Linked DNA regions of Homo sapiens: all the other regions are linked to region 5. The links are contacts of gene promoters, found by promoter capture Hi-C in blood cells and fetal thymus (Javierre and others, 2016). All regions are on one chromosome and are shown on one strand. Each heading gives the region's core, a stretch centred on a gene start or on the middle of the fragment in contact. The rest is flanking DNA. Distances are from core to core; before and after follow the strand shown.

Evidence for each region. Contacts are between HindIII fragments. The CHiCAGO score rates a contact against its expected background, and 5 or more counts as called.
Region 1: a fragment that was not itself captured here is called in contact with the fragment with the promoter of PAPSS1 in region 5 in 4 of 17 cell types (total B cells, naive CD8 T cells, total CD8 T cells and 1 more); the score reaches 6.1 in total B cells.
Region 2: a fragment that was not itself captured here is called in contact with the fragment with the promoter of PAPSS1 in region 5 in 1 of 17 cell types (non-activated CD4 T cells); the score reaches 5.4 in non-activated CD4 T cells.
Region 3: a fragment that was not itself captured here is called in contact with the fragment with the promoter of PAPSS1 in region 5 in 7 of 17 cell types (fetal thymus, non-activated CD4 T cells, activated CD4 T cells and 4 more); the score reaches 12.2 in fetal thymus.
Region 4: a contact is called between the fragment with the promoter of MCUB here and the fragment with the promoter of PAPSS1 in region 5, in 7 of 17 cell types (fetal thymus, activated CD4 T cells, naive CD4 T cells and 4 more). The highest score is 13.2, in fetal thymus.
Region 6: a contact is called between the fragment with the promoter of CASP6 here and the fragment with the promoter of PAPSS1 in region 5, in 7 of 17 cell types (activated CD4 T cells, total CD8 T cells, fetal thymus and 4 more). The highest score is 13.3, in activated CD4 T cells.
Region 7: a contact is called between a fragment that was not itself captured here and the fragment with the promoter of PAPSS1 in region 5, in 1 of 17 cell types (fetal thymus). The highest score is 7.1, in fetal thymus.

The regions. Positions count from the first base shown.
Region 1 is chr4:106,250,749-106,253,448 of GRCh38, forward strand. TBCK (TBC1 domain containing kinase) reads right to left here. Exons shown (of 26, transcript NM_001163435.3): 6 at 1,118-1,259. Among named protein-coding and RNA genes, the nearest start is that of TBCK, 64 kb to the right of the region's middle. The HindIII fragment of the contact is 1,688 bases long and covers 565-2,252 here.
Region 2 is chr4:109,410,571-109,413,270 of GRCh38, forward strand. No RefSeq gene overlaps it. Among named protein-coding and RNA genes, the nearest start is that of SEC24B, 22 kb to the right of the region's middle. The HindIII fragment of the contact is 221 bases long and covers 1,235-1,455 here.
Region 3 is chr4:109,429,101-109,431,800 of GRCh38, forward strand. It overlaps SEC24B-AS1 (SEC24B antisense RNA 1), which reads right to left. Exons shown (of 3, transcript NR_039978.1): 2 at 2,592-2,646; 3 at 863-1,680. Among named protein-coding and RNA genes, the nearest start is that of SEC24B, 3.4 kb to the right of the region's middle. The HindIII fragment of the contact is 2,721 bases long and covers 37-2,700 here.
Region 4 is chr4:109,558,976-109,561,675 of GRCh38, forward strand. MCUB (mitochondrial calcium uniporter dominant negative subunit beta) reads left to right here and starts at 1,271. Exons shown (of 8, transcript NM_017918.5): 1 at 1,271-1,461. The coding sequence starts at 1,363. RefSeq lists a silencer at 1,218-1,537 and an enhancer at 1,958-2,157. The HindIII fragment of the contact is 4,460 bases long and covers 609-2,700 here.
Region 5 is chr4:107,718,953-107,721,652 of GRCh38, forward strand. PAPSS1 (3'-phosphoadenosine 5'-phosphosulfate synthase 1) reads right to left here and starts at 1,282. Exons shown (of 12, transcript NM_005443.5): 1 at 1,168-1,282. The coding sequence starts at 1,227. RefSeq lists enhancers at 535-594, 2,585-2,700 and a silencer at 1,225-1,474. The HindIII fragment of the contact is 5,198 bases long and covers 1-2,700 here.
Region 6 is chr4:109,702,146-109,704,919 of GRCh38, forward strand. CASP6 (caspase 6) reads right to left here and starts at 1,300. Exons shown (of 7, transcript NM_001226.4): 1 at 1,211-1,300. The coding sequence starts at 1,250. RefSeq lists enhancers at 722-781, 1,672-1,721 and silencers at 962-1,071, 1,222-1,511. The HindIII fragment of the contact is 4,197 bases long and covers 1-2,774 here.
Region 7 is chr4:109,445,565-109,448,264 of GRCh38, forward strand. All of the region lies in intron 1 of SEC24B (SEC24 homolog B, COPII component), which reads left to right. Among named protein-coding and RNA genes, the nearest start is that of SEC24B-AS1, 13 kb to the left of the region's middle. The HindIII fragment of the contact is 159 bases long and covers 1,176-1,334 here.

The DNA of each region.
Region 1 (2,700 bases), core at 159-2,658, 1.5 Mb before region 5:
ATCCACACATACCTGGATATCTAGATGTATTCCAGGCCATATGGAGTCTTACTTTATTGAGACCAAGATGCCTCCTGGGTAAGACTGATTATACTCTTTCGCCTACCGAGCTAATTCTTACTTAAATATCATGATTCGGTTAGTCTGTTTCTCCATTAAAAAAACTTCATAACACTCCTTCCTCTTACCACAATAACTTCAGACAGCCATCCTTCATGCTCCTACAGCACCTGGTATATTTTAAGATGCACACATTATATTTTAATTATTTCCTTACTAGTCTGCCTCAGGAGGCTCCTTAGTATAAGGTCTGGAGTCAAACACTTATACCTTCAGCATTTATGAGTTGAGCAATGATTGTGTGCCAAATTGGACTCTTCCACCATCAAATAGTTATATAAATTTGGCAAACTACTTAATACCACCTGAAGTTTCACTTTTCTCATCTGTAAAATTAAAATATTAACTGTACATATACCACAGGTTATGGTGAGGGTTATGTAATGCAGAATATGCTTCATTAATGTTGGCTATCATTATATTTCTCTTATCATAAACAAATTAAGCTTATATGATCATTTAAATAAACTTAGAAGGAAAAGGCTTAAGATTACCTGGTGTTTATAGAAAAAAGAGATGCTTTGATTTTTTTTTAATAGAGAAGAAAAAATGTTCTTAAACACTTACCAAATCAGAACTACAGGTAGAGTTCATTGAAAAAAAGCTGCTATTCTTCTCAATCTTACATTACTGTCATATCAATCTTCTAAAAACGTAGTTTTCATTTCAATATCTTGTTAAACTTTTAATGGTACTCCATATATCTTATATAACTTAATATAAACATCTTAACTTTGTAAAAATATACACATTATAGAGATATCAAAATAATATATATCTGGTAACATTTACATTCACACTTAGTAAAAGTATGTTTCCAGAGATGCCAAAAAATATGTGAAATTATCAAACATGATTAAGTCAAATTAAGCCTTTTCTCCTCATATGTAATTAATTTGTACAGCAAAAACATACTATTATTAACTTTCCTCTCCAAAAGATTATTCCAATAAATGCACAATTTCCTTTTATTATATTAATATTTCTTTATACATACCACACAAAGCTCAAATAAAATGATTCCAAGAGACCATACATCTGATTTGGGGCCAGAAGGCAATGGTTTTTTACTTGGCATGTGATCAGTGGTTTTGAAAATTCCCTGTGCAATTACCTCAGGGGCCAAGTACGAGGGATACCTGTAATGATACATTAAAATAATGAAAAATTACAACAGGGAAAGAAGCGATAGTACATTTTTACAATCAATGTGGTAAGATCTATGTAAAAGTCTCATGCAATTAAATTAACAACTGTTGCTAGAAAGCATTCTAAACTAACCATCATAATACAGAACTTTAATGTCAAGGAATCAAGAGAAAATATACACAAGTCTGAAATAGTTTTAAAACCTTCATGTCTCCCTCCAGCATTAGCTCCTTTATTTGCTTCTCTCTGTGTTTTTAACACAGTCCTCTAGGCTTCCAAGTGTTTTTCCTTCCTTCTTATTGCCTATCTTCCCTTAACGCTGAATTAATATTTAAAGTGCATTTTATCTTTTAAAAAAGTATTTATTTTTAGTAGTAAGAATGTTAATGCTATAAAAAAGATACAAATTGAAAAGTAAAACTCCTATCTCTACACCCCTGTCATCCATACATATTTATGTATATATAACTTTGTCCACCCATCACCTCTGCCCCACATGGTGGAATACTATACATATTGCTATATACCTTTTTTCCACTTAAAGTGTATTTTAGAGATTGTTCTTTAAAAACACAAGTATAGAGTTTCCTCATTCTTTTTGAAAACTCCCAATAATTTCATTGATGTACTTAATTTGATGAAACAAAAACATTTTGGAACTTCCATTCTTTTGCTATTACCAATAATGAGATGAATATATTATGACTATTACATATCCCACAAGTATATGCATATAAATGACAGATATATTCTTAGAAGTGGCATTCCAAGATCGTAAGGTATGTGCATTTTAAATTTTGATTTACCACACCAAGTTGCCCTTTGGGGAGGTTGTATCAATTTATATTGTCATAAGTAATACATGAGGGTGCCTATTTCCTCACAACTTCACTGACATAAAACGTTTTTTGAAAACCGGTTTAGCAAATATTGAATAAATGCAAAACACTGCCTATTAAATATGAATAAGGCATAAAGAAGAAAGCTTCAATGAACACCCATGTACCAAGAAGCAGTTTAAGTGAAGAACATAAAATTATCACCAAAAGTCCCTTTGTGCTTCTCCCTGATTGTATCTCCACCCCTGTTCCTCCAGAGAAGACACCTGGAATTTTTGTGTTTGTCATTCTCTTCCATTTCCTGATGGTTTTACCATGTTTGTATCCCTAAAAAATGTACTGTTTAGTCAAGCATATTTCTGAACTTTATAACACTGGAATTAGGATGACTGTATTCTTTTGCTCTTTCAATCAAGATTATCTATATTGTTGGATGAAGCTATATCCATTAAATTCTTATTTCTATTATATGAACATAACATTATTTATACATTCAAATGGCAATGGCATTTAGGCTGTTTCCTGCTTTTTATTATTAACATTATGAACAACGTTGCACAGAATGCCATGTATGGTATACATCTGCAAAAGG
Region 2 (2,700 bases), core at 95-2,594, 1.7 Mb after region 5:
GAGTAGCTAGGATTACAGGCGGCACGCCCAGCTAATTTTTGTATTTTTAGTAGAGACGGGGTTTCACATGTTGGCCAGGCTGGTCTTGAACTCCTGACCTTATGATCCGCCCGCCTTGGCCTCCCAAAGTGCTGGGATTATAGGCGTGAGCCACCTCACCTGGCTGTGACTTGGTAAATTCTAGGGACTGACCAAAGCCAAGCATAGAATGGCTTTGTTATCCCAAAATTGTGATTACTTCAAGCCACGGTGGAGAGATGAAAATGTAGATGAGAGGAAAAGCAAATTCAAAAGCCAAACATGGCTATATTAAGCATTGAGGTGAAAGAGTAGGGTGAGGACCCAAACCACTGGCAACAACACTGGAAGCCAAGAGAGTGAGAGAACGGAATGCAGGGCAGTGGAGCTGGTGAGTCAGGCATCTGAGACAGAAGGTCCTTGTTCTGTAAATGTGCAGTGAAGTCTTGCCTGGCCTACGTGGAGAGAGGAGCCCCTTAAAGGTGACACCAAACTGGACAGCCACAGTCTACTGATCATTAATGTGTTCTGGATTGGGAGATGTTACAGGACAGTGGGACTAACAAATCTAAGTGCATGCATGCTGAAATGATGACAAATAGCAAAAGTGTCAATATAATCAAACAAAATAAATCAGGTATATTCTCGTAGGGGTGACTTTGCACTCGGATTTCAAAGCTCATATTCTAGGCCTTCTTTGCTATTGTTGACTCACCTGGTCAAATTGTCAACAGCATGCTATGGGCTCCTTTCTGCACCAATGTGCCTTTGAATCCCAAGTACCACTGCCCTCAATGTTTGAATCATCTTTGAGCCTACAGGTTAGGATTCTTGGTAGTAAAGGAAGAAGGCAGATTTTTTGAGGAGCTATTCTGGGAGCCTTCTTGTTATCCACTGGACACTGCTTATTTCACTTGTGGACTTACAATGTAGCAGCTGTGTTTCGATTTCTCCTGTAAGGCTTGCTGCAGAGGAATATCATCAATTAAAATGGACAAAAGGAGAGCACAAATTACTTTACCAGTTACCCCTAAGCTGACAGTCTGTAGATTACAACCAAATCTTAAAGTGTTTTCCCGGTCAATTGTACTATTCCATAGCTCTTAAGTGTCTATTTGAAGACCTAAAGCAGGTGATGTTTTCGGCCCAGATCCAGAGTTTAAAATTTGTGTAATATAATGTAAGTCTACCTACAGTTTTATGAGAATTTCTGTTAAGCTTTTGGGAGTTTGGTCTGTATGCTGTCATTCTTCATTTTCAAAGAATACATTTTTTAAATGATGGTGTTTCCTATATATACTTCCCATCATCGGCAACATCTAACCTGAGTTATTTATAAGCTGCTCTCAACTTTCAGAACTTTTCTGCCTCACATGTATGTTCCAGCATACCAAACTTGATTCTTTCCCCCCTCTCTCTCTCACTATGGATGGAGAAAGCTTTAAGAGGCCCTTGGTGTGTTTGTGTGGTAGGAGAGAGCTTGTGGGGAGAAGGATGGATTGGGGAGTGGAGACATGGAAACAGTTCTGGAAAAGTGGCTTTGCACAGAGCTGCTCCATCCACGTGATACTTTAGCAGTCCAAGCTGCAGAAAGGGAAGGCTGGCCACATGCCAGCTGCTCACTGGGAAAGAGTGATGGCTCCTGTAGACTGGCAGCAGGAGTTTGTTCTGCCTCTTCAAAATGCTGTCAGGAGACTTCTTTGCCAATGAATGAATCCTCAGGCCACTAAAGGGGGTAAGGGGATTCACACATACGCCTCCAGGTGAGAAGCATGGAAAAAAGGTTTCCTCTCCCCTGTACCTAGGAGATCTGGTCATAGTTCTGATTTTACTAACAGCTAGCTGTGTGGGCTAAGGTAAAATTATTTGACATCTATAAGTTCCAGTTATTTTGTTGTGAATAAAGAGGGGATCTGAGTAAAGAATGTCTCTGACTCTAAAATGCCATGGGCCTGTAATCTATCAGTGTGAGTGGTAACCTCAATAAAAGTGAAAGTCTGGTGTGGCAGCTCTTCTAGAGCTTCTTTTGTCTAGTCATGTCTATAATCAGGCCAAGTCCTGTAGTTTGTGGGATTGACACAAGATTCAAAATAACTGTGTGTCATCAGAAACAAAAGTTTGGAAAAGACATTTCCCCAAACTAAATTAAATATCACTGCTCAAAAATAATAAAATGCTATAGAAAGAAAATATCAACGCCACCACAAATCAACATTGGAGGAACAGCCCTAAAAAACATCTGGAAAATAGCATTAAGTTAACAAACCACTAGATAAAATGTTTGATTTCCCAGGCACTGATGTTACTAACTGCAAAAGCAGTTAAAAAGTCTTATGAGGAATAATATCTTGGCACTCATGAACAGCAAGAAACCCAGCTGTTTGCACTTGCTGTATAACAAGTGCCAATGCACATACTGTAATCCTCAGTCTGCTGAGCACTGCAATGGCAAACAGCACAATGTGACAGAAAGTTCCTGATTGGGCAAGAGTGATCAGGCTATTGGGACTCAGTAACAGGCAAATGCCTCCTTTTACTACAACAGCCCACTTCCAGGGCAACTTCCTTGTGAATTGTTGTTTCTTGCTATATATTCATTCATTTGCTTTTACTAGAAATTTATATCATGGTCTGGAAAGAACTTCTATTTCCAGGCAAGAGTTCCTTTAAACCATACCAGAT
Region 3 (2,700 bases), core at 147-2,646, 1.7 Mb after region 5:
ACCACTATACAACTTATATCAGTAAAAAGAAGAGTAAGCTTTGTTCTAAAGTTTCAAAGGACTGCCTCACTTTTCTGTTTTCTGGAAATGCATATGTGGCTTACTCCGAACTTGTGAGTATTGGGACTTACGAACAATGGAAATTTTGGAACCTAACCTGTTCATATGTAAGAGTTTCTAAAGTTCCAAAATGGGTTCTGTATTCCTCTGGTCTTCTGAAACAGAGTACAGAACATAATTTAATTTTTCTTTGCAATTGAGGACCAAATCTATGAATATCTGTTTTGGTCCTGATATATGGTGATGTCATAAAGCGCTTTCAAGTTATAAAGCAGGTGTTCGGTATGTGACAGTTCCCTTCACTTTATTTCCTTCAGAATACTAGGTTATAAATTTCTCAGATGGCAGAGACTTGTGGACTATGTTTATCATATTTCCAGTGGAATACATAGGGTTGTTCAATGTAACTAATTGTGTCAGAATACCGTGCATTTTTAATTCATTTTTCTAATTGTCTTGTTTTTCCTGTGCTTATTCTGCCAACTAATAGAGATTGCTCCTCTCAAACTACCTATATTAACAGCATTTCCTTCCCTTGCCTTGTGATTCATAGTTTCTAATCTGCTGTGGACTAGTTAAGTGTCTAACTACAGAAATTACAGCATGTCTGAAACAACAGCCAAATAGTTTATGTGACAATCAGAGAATTTCCTGTAAGTGCATGCACTATTGTTCATGAGTTGACTATGTGGTAATTATTTGCCAATAATCTCATCTTTTATTTTTCTTTTAGTATCTTAGTTGTGTTTTAGACCACTGAAATGTAAATGAGAGTTAAATGACATCAACATAAGTGATCAAATATTATTAAAGTCAGTGAAATTATTTATTCTCATGATAATGCGTGGTGAAACTCAACTGGAATGCCATAATGAAAAGAAGAAACAAAGATTCACTAAGAGCAAAAAAAAAAAAAAAAAAACACAGCCAGGATTGTTTTTAATTCAAGAAATACAAATACAAGTCAGTAGGAATATATAGAAAAGTTTCTGCATACCTTTGAAAACAGACCATATCTTATTCATTTTTGTATCCCCAATACCTAGCCTATTATAAATGTAATAAATCTGTAAATGGATCAGATAAAGGAGGAAAAAGCAGAAAACTGTTTCTTCATATTGGGAGATGGACACCTAATAGAGAATGCCACTAAAAGGGAAGGAGTGATCTACAAACGCCAAATGTGATTTACAAACTAGAGAATAAAAACCCTAGTGAGAAATATGGAAAGCCAGGCTACGATAAAGAATTGACATTTCTTGGCTGGGCATGGTGGCTCACGTCTGTAATCCCAGCACTTTGGGAGGCCGAGGCAGGCAGATCACCTGAGGTCAGGAGTTTGAGACCACCCTGGCCAACATGGTGAAACCCCATTATCTACTAAAAATACAACAATTAGCCAGGAGTGATGGTGCATACCTGTAGCCCCAGCTACTCAGGAGGCTGAGGCAGGAGAATCGCTTGAACCCAGGAGGTGGAGGTTACAGAGAGCCAAGATGGCGCCACTGTACTCCCGACTGGGTGACAGTCTCAAAAAAAAAAAAAGAGCTGACATTTCTTGAGCTAGAGATAGGCGTTCAGTTGTCCAAGGCTCCCACTTCTGTTATAGAGAATAGAGTCCTAAGTTGGGGATGACAAATAGTAACACACGTATTATTTCACTTCCATATATGCAGCAGAGATTAATTCAATTACCCACTCTTTCTCACTGAACAGACTTGGCCTCAGCATCTGCATCAACACTATACCTCAGAGAATCTGAGTTGACATAGGAAACATCATAATTGGCATTTGTGACACTGTAATCACAAATCTACAAAATATCACTTTTATTGGTCTGTAAAAGATTGAAGAGATGTCCTGAAAGAAAGGACCATCATCTTCCAAAGTAAGAGAATGAACCAATTCAGCTTAACTCTGCTATTCAAAAGCAGTGGTCCTCAAACTTCCCCATGCATCAGAATTGCCTGGAGAGCTTGCTGTAGGGCCCTATCTCCACCACTTCTGAATCAGTATACGGTCCAGGGTTTGGGCCCACAAATCTGCATTTCAAAAACTCTGAGATCTACCATTGTAGAGTACACTGGAACAAATTCTAAATATGAAAAACTGAAAATCTTTTGACAGCAAGACAGTAAATCATAACTAGCATAGCTTTATGAAGAAAAATGTAAATTAACCCAGTATAGTTTATAGTAAAGCAATGGTCTGGAGCTAAATAATCCTTGGTTTGACCGCTGGTTCTGCTAATTCCAGGTTCATGATTTTTACTAAGATTACTTCAGCTCTATAAACATTAGTTTCTTCACAGATAAAATAGGGATAAGAAAAATATCCCATGGAGTTATTGTTAGGATTAAATAGAAAAAAATACATATCTAGATTTACAAGCACAGTGCCTAGTAGATGGTTCAATCCTATTCATTCAATTCTTCATCCTTTTTTCACTTATAGTAGTAATGGAAATTAAAGCAAAAGAGTGAAATATTTTCATAAAGGTTGTAGTGTTTGTCAGGAGGAAAAATATCTACCTTCTAGAAGGGGTGCCACGGCAGCGACAGCACAAGGCCCGTGCGTCTGGGGTTCCTGTAACAAAAGAAAGGCATATGAATGTATGATATTTAATGTAAGTTTTACATG
Region 4 (2,700 bases), core at 21-2,520, 1.8 Mb after region 5:
AAAAATACACGCTTCTTTCACTTGGAGCACTAGCTAATAGGAGGAAAAGATTCAGGTAAGGTAATTTACCTTCCCATATGAACTTAAAGTTTCATGTGTCACTCTCCATCTGGGGCAACTGTATTTTGAAAGACATGCTAGTTAACACAGGTGAATCAGCCTTTAATAGTGATAAAGTTTTTACTATAGTAGAAACTTGTGATTCTTTCCCTTTTCAATAAGGAAAGGAGATTACCGCCAGGAGTGATTTGCCACTTATTGCAGGTTTGCCAATTTTGATTCATTAACTGAACCCTCTTGCAGATTCAGGAGATAAAAATGCGGAGTGCCCAGTTAAATTTGAATTCAGATAAACACCAAATAATTTAGTATATCCCAGATATTTCATTTTTAAAATAATAAATGTGACCCATGCAATATTTGGGACATACTTCACTATTTGTATCTAAAATTCAAGTTTAACTGGGCATCCTATATTTTATCTAACAACCCTACTGTAATTGGTTTAGGTTGCTCTTTAATGCCTTTGGTTTGCTTTCAAAAATAAGTAGTCTCAAAACAAAGCATCCGATTTCCCAGTAGTTAGAAGAACTCAATACCGGTTCCGAAGCTTCTTCAATTAAAAACGTGCTTCAAAAGAGAAGCCAATTCTGTGGGAGATACTTTCCCAAAAAACTCGGGTTTGGGCCCCTATACCGTGAACTACAAACCTCCGCAGGGGTAGGCCCGGGCTGCCCGCCTCACACCGCACTCGCCAGCGAGCAGGGGCCCGGCACCGCAGCCCGGGGCAGAGGCCTTGGAGGTTGTGGAGGTGGGAGAGGCCTCGGCCGACCCGCTTCAATCCGTCTTCTCCAAGCTCGGTGGGGAAAACAAACTTCCTGAGCGGCCCTGCCCCCTCCAGATGCCGGACGCTGTTTTCGTCTCATCCCCGTCTGGGTTGGATGGCGAAGACGGCGCTCAGAGCACGCAGCACCGGGAATTAACAGCGAGTTTTGAAATCTAGAGCTCGCAAGGTGTGCGTCGCCTGCTGCTGTTCATTCCAGAGGGTCTTCTGCTGGAGAAGGAGGGGGCCCTCGACCTCGGGCTCCCGCTCTCGGGCTCCCGCTCTCTCGCTCTCTTTTTTTTTTTTTTTTTTGGTCGGAGGAAAGAAAACAGCCCTGCGCCCGGATGCGTAGAGAGCCGACAAGTGGAAACAGGGACACACCCTCCCGTGAGCCCGCCCAAGCTGGAGCCGCGGCGCGCTGAGCGAGCAGGCGGGGCGGGAGCGCCCACAGCTCGGAGCCACCAGGCGCTGACGAGGAGCCCGGCTGAGGGAGGATGCGCCGCTGACGCCTGCGGGAGCCGCGCGCCTGGGGCGGGAGGATGCTCCAGAGGGGCCTCTGGCCGTGGCGCACGCGGCTGCTGCCGACCCCTGGCACCTGGCGCCCAGCGCGCCCGTGGCCGCTGCCGCCTCCGCCCCAGGTAAGAGCGGGTGCCGGGCTGTGGGGGTTCGGGGTAGGCTGGTGCAAAGTTTGCGTTGGACAACTTTGGCGGGAGCAAAAGCCGAGCGGCCGAGCAGTCAACTGCGTTTTGCTGGCTGCCGGGCTCCGCGCGCCGGGCGGTCCCGACAGGTGGTGGCCGGGCGGCCGACGTGGGTCACGGAGGCCTGGGCTGAGGTCAAGACTCCGGGCCCGGGGAAGGTGAAGCCAGAGCGCTGCGGCTGGGGGTGCCTCACCCGGGCCGAGATAGGGTGCGGGGACCACCAGACTTCGGCCTGGGAGCAGCAGAATAACCTGGGAGGCAGTTTCTGGGCTGCAGCTCTCGGTCAGGAGCAAGTTTCCAAAGCCGCTGCGCCGCGGGGCCGGTTCCCTCTTGGTGATCAGTGCCCGAGCCCCTAAGGAGCCCGGAAACGATGAACGGGGCAGTGACCGTCCCGGGTGTGGACGGTCGCAGGAGAGTGAAATTTCCATCCTGAAATCTGCGAGCACCTCCCTTTCCCAGAAGGAAGAAAAACTCGCGTTTTGTTCAGACACCCGAGAGACGGGTGAATCATGAGTGTGCTGGTGAGTAACAGTTGGCCTGACACCGTTGTATTGTGGTCTGTGGAGAACCGTGGCTTGGAGGAGTAGAGAGTGGATGTGCACCAAAAAAGACTAGAAGAAGGGGAAAGCGCTGAGTTTAAGGAGGATTGCGATGGAGCCTGACAGGAGCCCGGGAGTGCAAACTCTGACCCAGATGAGGAAAGACAGCCAAAGCCTTCAGGGTGTGTGTGGTTGGGGAGGGAGCTGTTTCTGAGTTTTCGTTTGTTCCTCCCCCACACTGTTAAGATTACTTTCAGATTGTTAAAGGCTTAAAAGCCAAAAAGTAAGCAGTGTGATTCTCTTGTCACTTTCACTTCCTGTTTATTTTGTTCTTTTTTTTCCTTCCCCCCCTTTTCCTCCAGCTGTCTGAGGGCTTCAGTTTCAATTGATGCAGGGAATATTTAAGTGCATTTTTTTTTCCTTTTCATTGAGCTTGTGACCAAAGGATTAAGTGCATTCAGAAAATCAATTCCAGGAATGTTTGAAAGAGAATGAGGAAGGCCATGTTGTTACTAAATGTAAGAACAGGGGCAAACTCCTTAAAATGTAAAATGGTAGACTTATAAAGTCATTGGGGAGATGGGCTTTTTATACTTTTAAAGGTTGTACTTTTACTGTAAGTGTTGCATTGTGTAGTCAA
Region 5 (2,700 bases), core at 32-2,531:
AGTGACTCTCCTCAAGATCACACAGCTAGTAAATGGCAAAGCTGGGATGAGAGACCAGGCCAGGAGTCCAGCGCTCTTTCCACTGTTCTAATTCATCTTTTAAATCTCCTTCCCCTCCTTACCATCTATAGAGTTAAATAAAAGGAGAGAGGAATCAGTAAACAACTCATGATAACAATAACAACAGATGTGGTAAATTAATGACTTCCAAAGAACATTTGCCTGAAATTGCTTGTTTTTTTTTTCTTTGATTCATCTAGGGCAAGTAACGTTTTGGGAGACATTGCATTTAAACCTTATTATTCCATTGGACTGTGAAATAACGTTTCCGTCTAAACTTAAACCAGTGCCTTTCCAGACTCCAAAGATGGGCCCTTCCCTGCTGCACACTTACAAAGGAAGATAAGGCTCTTTCTCATCACAGAGAAATTAAGGAAGTAAGCAACGTTATGAGGACACAGCACTTTACAAAGTCAACTGGCAGTCATTACTAAACGTTATAAAGGACTGGTCCCATACCTGACTGTCACCAGGAATGGAGTCTTCCAAACTCCTACTTGTTAAACATTCCGATTTAACACAGAGACACAAAGAACCTCAGTTCAGGGCAGTCTCAACTCATGAATGACCACATTGTTGGGTACTCTCCTTTCACACTGAAACTCAGAAATGGAAAGACACGGAGATGGACCCAAACCTGGGCCAACCGCACTGGCAGAGCCAAGAAAAACCAAGAACGCGTCGAAGGCGCCCGCCTCCGCCTTCTCTGCACATCTTCAGGCCACTCCAAGGTATGCAGGAAGCTCCTGTTTCTGCAGCCGCAGGTTTCAGCACCCGGAGGTTTCAGCAAGCGCCAGTTCACGGGTGAAGGATTTTCCTGGGGGTCTTACCTGAGCGGAGGCGCTGGGGAGGGGGGGCGTTCTTCCCACGAACGGTGGCTCGGACCGCACGCTGCGCCAAGCTAGGGCGAGATCCCCACCCTGCGCCGCGCCCCTCTGCCTCGCAACCACCCACGGCCCCAGCCGGGAGGCGCCGCAGCCCCGGAACCCACCTCCGCGCTCCTGGAAGGATGGATGCGGAGGAGGCGGGAGAGAGGCGGCGGCTCCGGAACGAGCTGCTCCCACAGCCCCTCCGCTCCTCGCCGTCTCGCCTTCGTCCCCAGCTTACCCAGTTCTGCGCGTTATTGCTCAGTTTGACTTTCTTGCACAGGCTCCCGGGGATCTCCATGACCGCGGAGCGCGCTGAGCAGCCGGGGTTCTCTGCGCCGGGAGGGTAGCAAGAGGAGGGCAGGCCAGCGAGCGGGGCGGGGCTGGAGGGCGGGGCCTCCTCGCGTCGGAGCGGGCGCGCGCTGACTTAAGCACGCGCCCGTGCTCGTGGCCTGGGTTGCGCGGCGCATGCGGCGCGCCTCGGAAATGGGTCCGGGGCAGAGGTCTGTGGGGAAGGGCGAAACGCCGGGATAGAACCGGAGGTAGAAGCTGGGGGCGGAGCTTCAGCGCTCGCGCCGGCGCGGGCGCGCACGGCGCTCCTCCTTCCAGATCCCGATGAAGGGGCGGGGCCTGGAATGCAGTCGTGGAACCTCAGGTGCCTCTGCGGCACCGAGCCTAGCTCTGAGCTAACGCAGATCTCTAAGAGCGAGTACCAGCCGCCGGGAGAAAGGCAAGGGGAGTGCGCGGCTCGCCGCGCGCGGCACTCCCTCAGCAGAGGCTGATTGGGAGGACGCTGACGCGGCCTCTTGCACCTGTGGCTACTCCTCCACAGACCTGGCTGCCGACCTCCTGTCTGCCCCTTCTGTGCCCATGTCACCCTGGCCAAATGTTTTAAATGTTTTACAGCTTTGCAAAGGGAAGAATTGATTTACCGAACAGCTCATTCTCCACATTAAAATTCTACTCAAGACACAATTTTTTTTCTTTTTTTGAGACGGAGTCTTGCTCTGTCGCCCAGGCTGGAGTGCAGTAGTAGGATCTCGGCTCACCGCAACCTCTGCCTCCCGGGTTCAAGCGATTCTCCTGCCTCAGCCTCCCGAGTAGCTGGGACTACAGGCGTGTGCCACCACGCCCGGCTAATTTTTGTATTTTTAGTAGAGACGGGGTTTCACTATGTTGGCCAGGCTGGTCTCGAATTCCTGACCTCATGATCCGCCCGCCTCAGCTTCCCAAAGTGCTGGGATTCCAGGCGTGAGCGACAGCGCCTGGCCTCAAGACACAGTTTTTAAAAAGATATAATAAAAGCCCGATTTCTTGACATCAATAATTAATATCTCAACCTGGATTAGTGATTACTTATAAGGTGCCTCCCTCTCCGCTAGGAGACCCCACTTCGCATCAGATTTCTGTGCAGTGCTTCTTACCGACCTACACCGGAAAGGGGCTTCTGTATTATTAAGAGCTACTCAGGAAATACCTAGAGGACTGAAATCCAGGACCGGGGAGGCCGCAGGTAACCCCGAATAGAACTCCCGCCTACGGAGGACATTTTCAAATTCACCTAATTATTCCAGGGCTAGTTCGTAGGAGGATGGGCTGGGGGCATGACAGAGTTTCCTCCAGGAGTTATCTTCCCCACACCCCCCATAACTCTGAGTTCTCTTTTCCGCAGCTTGCCCCTGGCACCAAAAGAGTTGCTTGCAGCTCTGCCCCCCTGTGACACAGCCGCCCTCCGCCCCTGACCCCGCCCATCACCAAGACCTGAGACTGCTGC
Region 6 (2,774 bases), core at 50-2,549, 2.0 Mb after region 5:
TCCCGCCCCTAGAGACTGCAACTGGACCCTGCACTGTGCCTCCAGGACAAGGCTACCTATCTACCTCCTCTACGACCATGTGACTTTTACAGCTTGCCTCTGGAGCACCATTTCCTTTGTGCAGCAAAATATAAAGAGTTCTTAAACAAAGGCACTCTAACCAACTGCAGGCGTTTCGTTCTTTTTTTTTTTTTTTCTTCTTGATTCGAAGTCTCACTCTGTCGCCGAGGTTGGAGTGCAGTGGGGCGATCTCGGCTCACTGCAACCTCCACCTCCAGGGTTCAAACGATTCTCTTGTCTCAGCCTCCCCAGTAGCTTGCGCCCAGGCCTGGCTAATTTTTTTGTATTTTTAGTAGAGACGGGGTTTCACCGTGTTAGTTAGGCTGGTCGAGAACTCCCGACCTCTGGTGATCCGCCCGCCTCGGCCTCCCAAAGTGTTGGGATTACAAGGCGTGAGCCACCACGGCCGGCCAACTGCAGGCGTTTCGACCTTTTTGTTTGTTTCACTCTGGCCAGGCTTGAAGTTTCTAAACTTTACCAGTAATAAGTGACAGAACGTACGCTCTTAGCAGTTGATTACTTTGCAGAAAAAAGTTATTGTGGTTTTGGCTCAAACCGACAGACAGCAGCAGGTTTCCTGGATGAAGAAGAGAGATACCGGGGTGTGCTGGCCGCCAGGAACTGGCCGCCTCCAGCTGAAGCCCGGGAGGACCCAGGGTCTTGGCCCGGGCACCCCGCGGGCCTGTTATGTTTTCATTATGACTCGGCGGAACAACCCCTCCTTTTCACTTTTCGAAGTGAGCAAACAAAAGATCCAACCCCCAACATTTCAAACGGCCAGGTGTGGGGGAACGCCAGGCCCGCGTGGGGACAGCCTTTTAAGGTTTAAACAGCCGGGGCGCCCCGAAAGCGCTCATCGCCCCGGAGGACAAAGGCGGCAGGGGCACGCCCCGGCGCCGGCGTCGCTACTCGGGACCGCCAGGAGGCGGCAGCCAGGTCCCCGAGTGTTTCTTAGACTGAAGCGCGAAACCGTCCCCACCCGCCCTGAGCGCTTCAATCCAAGAGTGCAACTTCTCCAGGCCGCCCTGCAAAGCCGAAGGAACCCGCGGCCCCACTCCGGTCCGCGCGCCCGGTCCACTAACCCTCGTTTCCCCTCCAGCCGGAGCAAGACGCAGACCTGCTCGGTGCCCAGTCGACGCCCCCTGCCTACCTGCCGGGTGCCCCCTGCGGAGCCCCGAGGCCGAGCTCATTGCAGCCAAACGCGCAGCCAGACACCTTGCCCTCCTCTTCCTGAAGCCACAGGCTCCCGGGCCCGGCCCCGCCCTCGGCCCTTCCTCGGCGGCCCCGCCCCCTGCCCCCGAGCGTGGGGCCAGTTGGTTCTGATTGCGCGCCGCCCGGGCTCCCGTGGATCGGGCTGGTCCTTCCCAGAGTTAAAGCTCCTCCCAGTCGCTCCGGAGCCCGCGGGGACCAAGAGCGCGGGGGCAGGGAGAGGTACGCGGTCTTCGCCTCCAGGCCCGCTGGGACTAACCGTGCCCTGGGGACATGCCAGTTGCCACCCGGGGGGACACACAGACCGCCTAGCCCGAGGCAATTTCACATCACTTGTGTGAGCTCGGACTCATTTAATCCCAGCTGCCCCAAACATTTGCTATTCCTTACTTTGCTATGCCTGTACTTTCTAGAGGTACAGGCATAGATTGTTTTATACCGCTTAGCAGATACTGCCTGTATTTCAACATTGGCTCGCTTTGTGTCTCTGTGTCACATTTTGGTACTCTCGCAATATTTCAAAATTTTTCATTGTTATTATGTCTGCTGTTGTGATCTGTGATCAGTAATCTTTAATATTATTGCAATTGTTTTGGGGCACCATGAACCGCGCTCATAAAGGAAGGGGAAATTAATCCATAAGCCCTGTATGTGTTTGGACTGTTCCACCGAACTTTCCCTTCTCTCTCCCCCTCCTGGGGCCTCCCTATTCCTGGAAACACAATTTTGAAATTAGGCCAACTAATAATCCTACAAAGGCCTCTAAGTGTCCAAATGAAAGGAAGAGCCTGTCACTTTAAATCAAAAGCAAACATGATTAAGTTAGTGAGGAAGTAATGTTGGTAGGCAGAAAGCTAGGCTTCTTGCTCCAGTTAGCCAAGTTGTGAGTGCAAAGGAGAAAAGCCAAGTCATGAATGCAAAGGAAAAAATTTTGAAGGAAATTAAAAATGCTACTCCAGTAAACACACAAAAGACAATAAAGCTAAACAGCCTTATTGCTGATATGGAGAAAGTTCTAGTTGGTCTGGATAGAAGATAAAAACAGCCACAACATTCCCTTAAGCCAAAGCCTAATCCAGAGCAAGGCCCTAACTCTTCAATTCTATGGAGGCTGAGAGAGGTGAGGGAATTGCAAAAGAAAAGCTGGAAGCTAGCAGAGAGGATGGTTCCTGAGGTTTAAGGAAAGAAACTATCTTCATGACATAAAAGTGCAAGGTGAAGCAGCAGGTGCTAACGTAGAAGCTGCATCAGGTTATCCAGATCTAGCTAAAATCATTGATAAAGGCAGCTACACTAAACAACAATCTTTTGTTTTTGAGACAGTCTTGCTTTGTCACCAAGGCTGGAGTACAGTGGTGCGATCTTTTGCAACCTCTGCCTCCTGGGTTCAAACGATTCTTCTGCCTCAGCCTCCCAAGTAACTGGGATTACAGGATGTGCCACCATGTCCAGGTTAATTTTGTATTTTTAGTAGAGACAGAGTTTCACCATGTTTGGCCAGGCTG
Region 7 (2,700 bases), core at 5-2,504, 1.7 Mb after region 5:
ATTTTATTTTATTTATTTTTTTGAGACAGGGTCTCACTCTGTCACCCAGGCTGGAGTGCAGTGGTGCAATCTTGGCTCACTGCGGCCTCAATCTCCTGGGCTGAAGCAAGCCTAGCACCTCAGCCTCCCAAGTTACTGGGACTACAGGCACAAACCACCACACCTGCGTAATTTTTTATTTCATGTTTGTAGAGATGAAGTCTTACTATGTTGCCTGGGCTGGTCTCAAACTCCTGGACTCAAGCAATCCCCCTGCCTCAGCCTCCCAAAGTGCTGGGATCACAGGTGTGAGCCACCGCACCCAGCCTGTTTTAGTTTTTCAGTGATTATTTGATGCTTATGTAAGGCATTGTATTGGGCAATTTGGGGAGTGCAATAATCAAATTAATTTATTCTAAGATGCTTTTTTTTTTTTTTTTTACATTTTTTACCTCTGAAATTGGGGTGCATTTTAGAATCAGTGGAATTCTAAACTTGCTTTCCATAAAGTGAAATCATAATATAGTTGTGTGAGAATCTGCCATTGATACCTGATGTGGTAGGCTGAATAATGGGTTCCCCAGCTATGTCCATGTCCTAATCCCTGAAACCTTTGCAGCAGTGATTAAGTTAAGGATCTTGAGATGGGGTTTTCCTGGAACTTGGTAGGCCTGATACAATCACAGCAGTTCTTATTAGAGAGACACAGGACAAGTCAGAGCCAGCAGCGAAGGAAATGTGAAGACAGAAGCAGAAGTTAGAGTGATGTGCTTTGGAGATGGAAGGGGCCACAAGCCAAGGAATACCAGTGGCCACTAGAAGCTGGAAAAGGCAAGGAAACGGATTGTCTCTTCAGAGTGTCCAAAGGGAACCAGCCCTGTCCCTTGACACTTTGTAGCCCAGTGAAACTGATTTTGGACCTCTGACCTCCAGAACTCTAAGAGAATAAATTTGTGTTGTTGTAAACACTGACTTTGTTGTACTTTGTTATAGTAGCAGCAGGAACCTAATACACCTGTGAAGATAAATAGTGGCAGTATCAAAACACACCTTAGATATAATGAAATACGATAGATTTTCATTTCTTTTTGTTAAAAACACTTTTCTTATACGTGAACAGGGTAAAAAGTGTAACACGCCAAAGCAGAAAAAAGACCTGTTTTTGTATTATGGTATAAATTATTTTACATAGTGAAAGCTTTTAAAGTTTCATGTTCTTTGTGTTTAAGTAGCATGTAGTATTCCTTATTGATACATTGTGATAAGTGCCTGATACAGAAATACTTGATGATTATTTACTAGGCTTCATTTTATAAAAATACAGTAATAGTTTCCATCAGCCAGCCATTACACTAAGCTTTGGGGGATAGGATAGAGCTAAGAGCAAACTAGACTGAATTTTTTCACTTGCAGAATTTACAATTAGACAATTACAGTTCCATGTGAAAAGTTCTGTCATAAGGGTCCAAAATACTGTGGAAGCAATATTATATAATGGCATGCATTCACTTGTAGGATTAGAGAATGTTTTCCTAGAGAAGAGCTGAGCTGAGATCTGAAGAATAAGTTAAGAATTGGTCAGGTGAAGCAGAAGAGGGTATTTTGGAAGGTTCCATATACAGGGAAAAGCCTATCTGAAGATTGAGAGGTGAAGAAGCATGGCTTGAAAAAAATTTAGCATGATAAGGATGTGTGTAGAACAGTGATTCTCAGCCTTTTCATACTCATGGCTACTTTAGTGCTAAAATTTTTGGTGGCATTCTTAAAGGAATTACACTTTGAACACTTGTATTAAAAAAAAAGTTTCAAAAAAGGTATCACATACTCACTTGATCCCCTTCAGAAGCCTCTAAAAGACAGCTTAAAGTAAAACTGTCTTCTGCCCTGATGAACCTCTTTTAGGGCCTCTTGAGGTGAAACTCAAGCATACAATCTTAGTTGATGTTGTACTGTGGCTTCTTTGCTTTTTTGTGGCAAACAGTATTTTTTTCCCACCAGCTCAGCATTCTATTTGACTTCACCATATCAGTAAGCATCTTAAGTGTAGCAAAATTAAATTTTATTTATTGATCAAATGTTGGCAGAGGCATGTGGAAGACTACTAGTATACTAGTATATTAAGGCATACCTCTTGAAAATTATTGTATGAAGAGGTGGTGAGTGATAAAGCAGGAGTGGTAAGCAGAGGTCAGATGATGGAGAGTCTTTGCATTGTTTTCTATTTACTGCTGTAACAAATGACCACAAATTGGTGGCTTCAAACAACATGAATTTATCACCTATAGGTTAGAAGTCCACCTGAGCTAAAACCAAGGCATCTACAGGGCTGCATTCCCTTCTAGAGAATCTAAGGGAGAATTAATTTCTTGCCTTTGTCAGCTAGCTTCTGGATGCTGCCCACATTCCTTGGTCCATGGCCCACTTTCTCCATGTTCAAAGCCAGCAACATTGCATCTGTCTGAGAATTCTTCTGTAGTCACATCTCCCTCTGACTCTCTTCTACCTCTGCTTTTCTGCTCTTAAGGATGTTTGTGATTATATTGGTCTCACCTGGGTAATCAAGAATCTATTTTAAGGTCAGTTGATTAACATTCTTAATACCATGTGCAACCTTAATTCCCCTTTGCCAGGTAATCTAACATATTCACAAGTTTCAGAGATTAGGATATGGACATATGTTTTATTGGTCATGTTAAATAATTTGAATTTTTTTTTTTATGG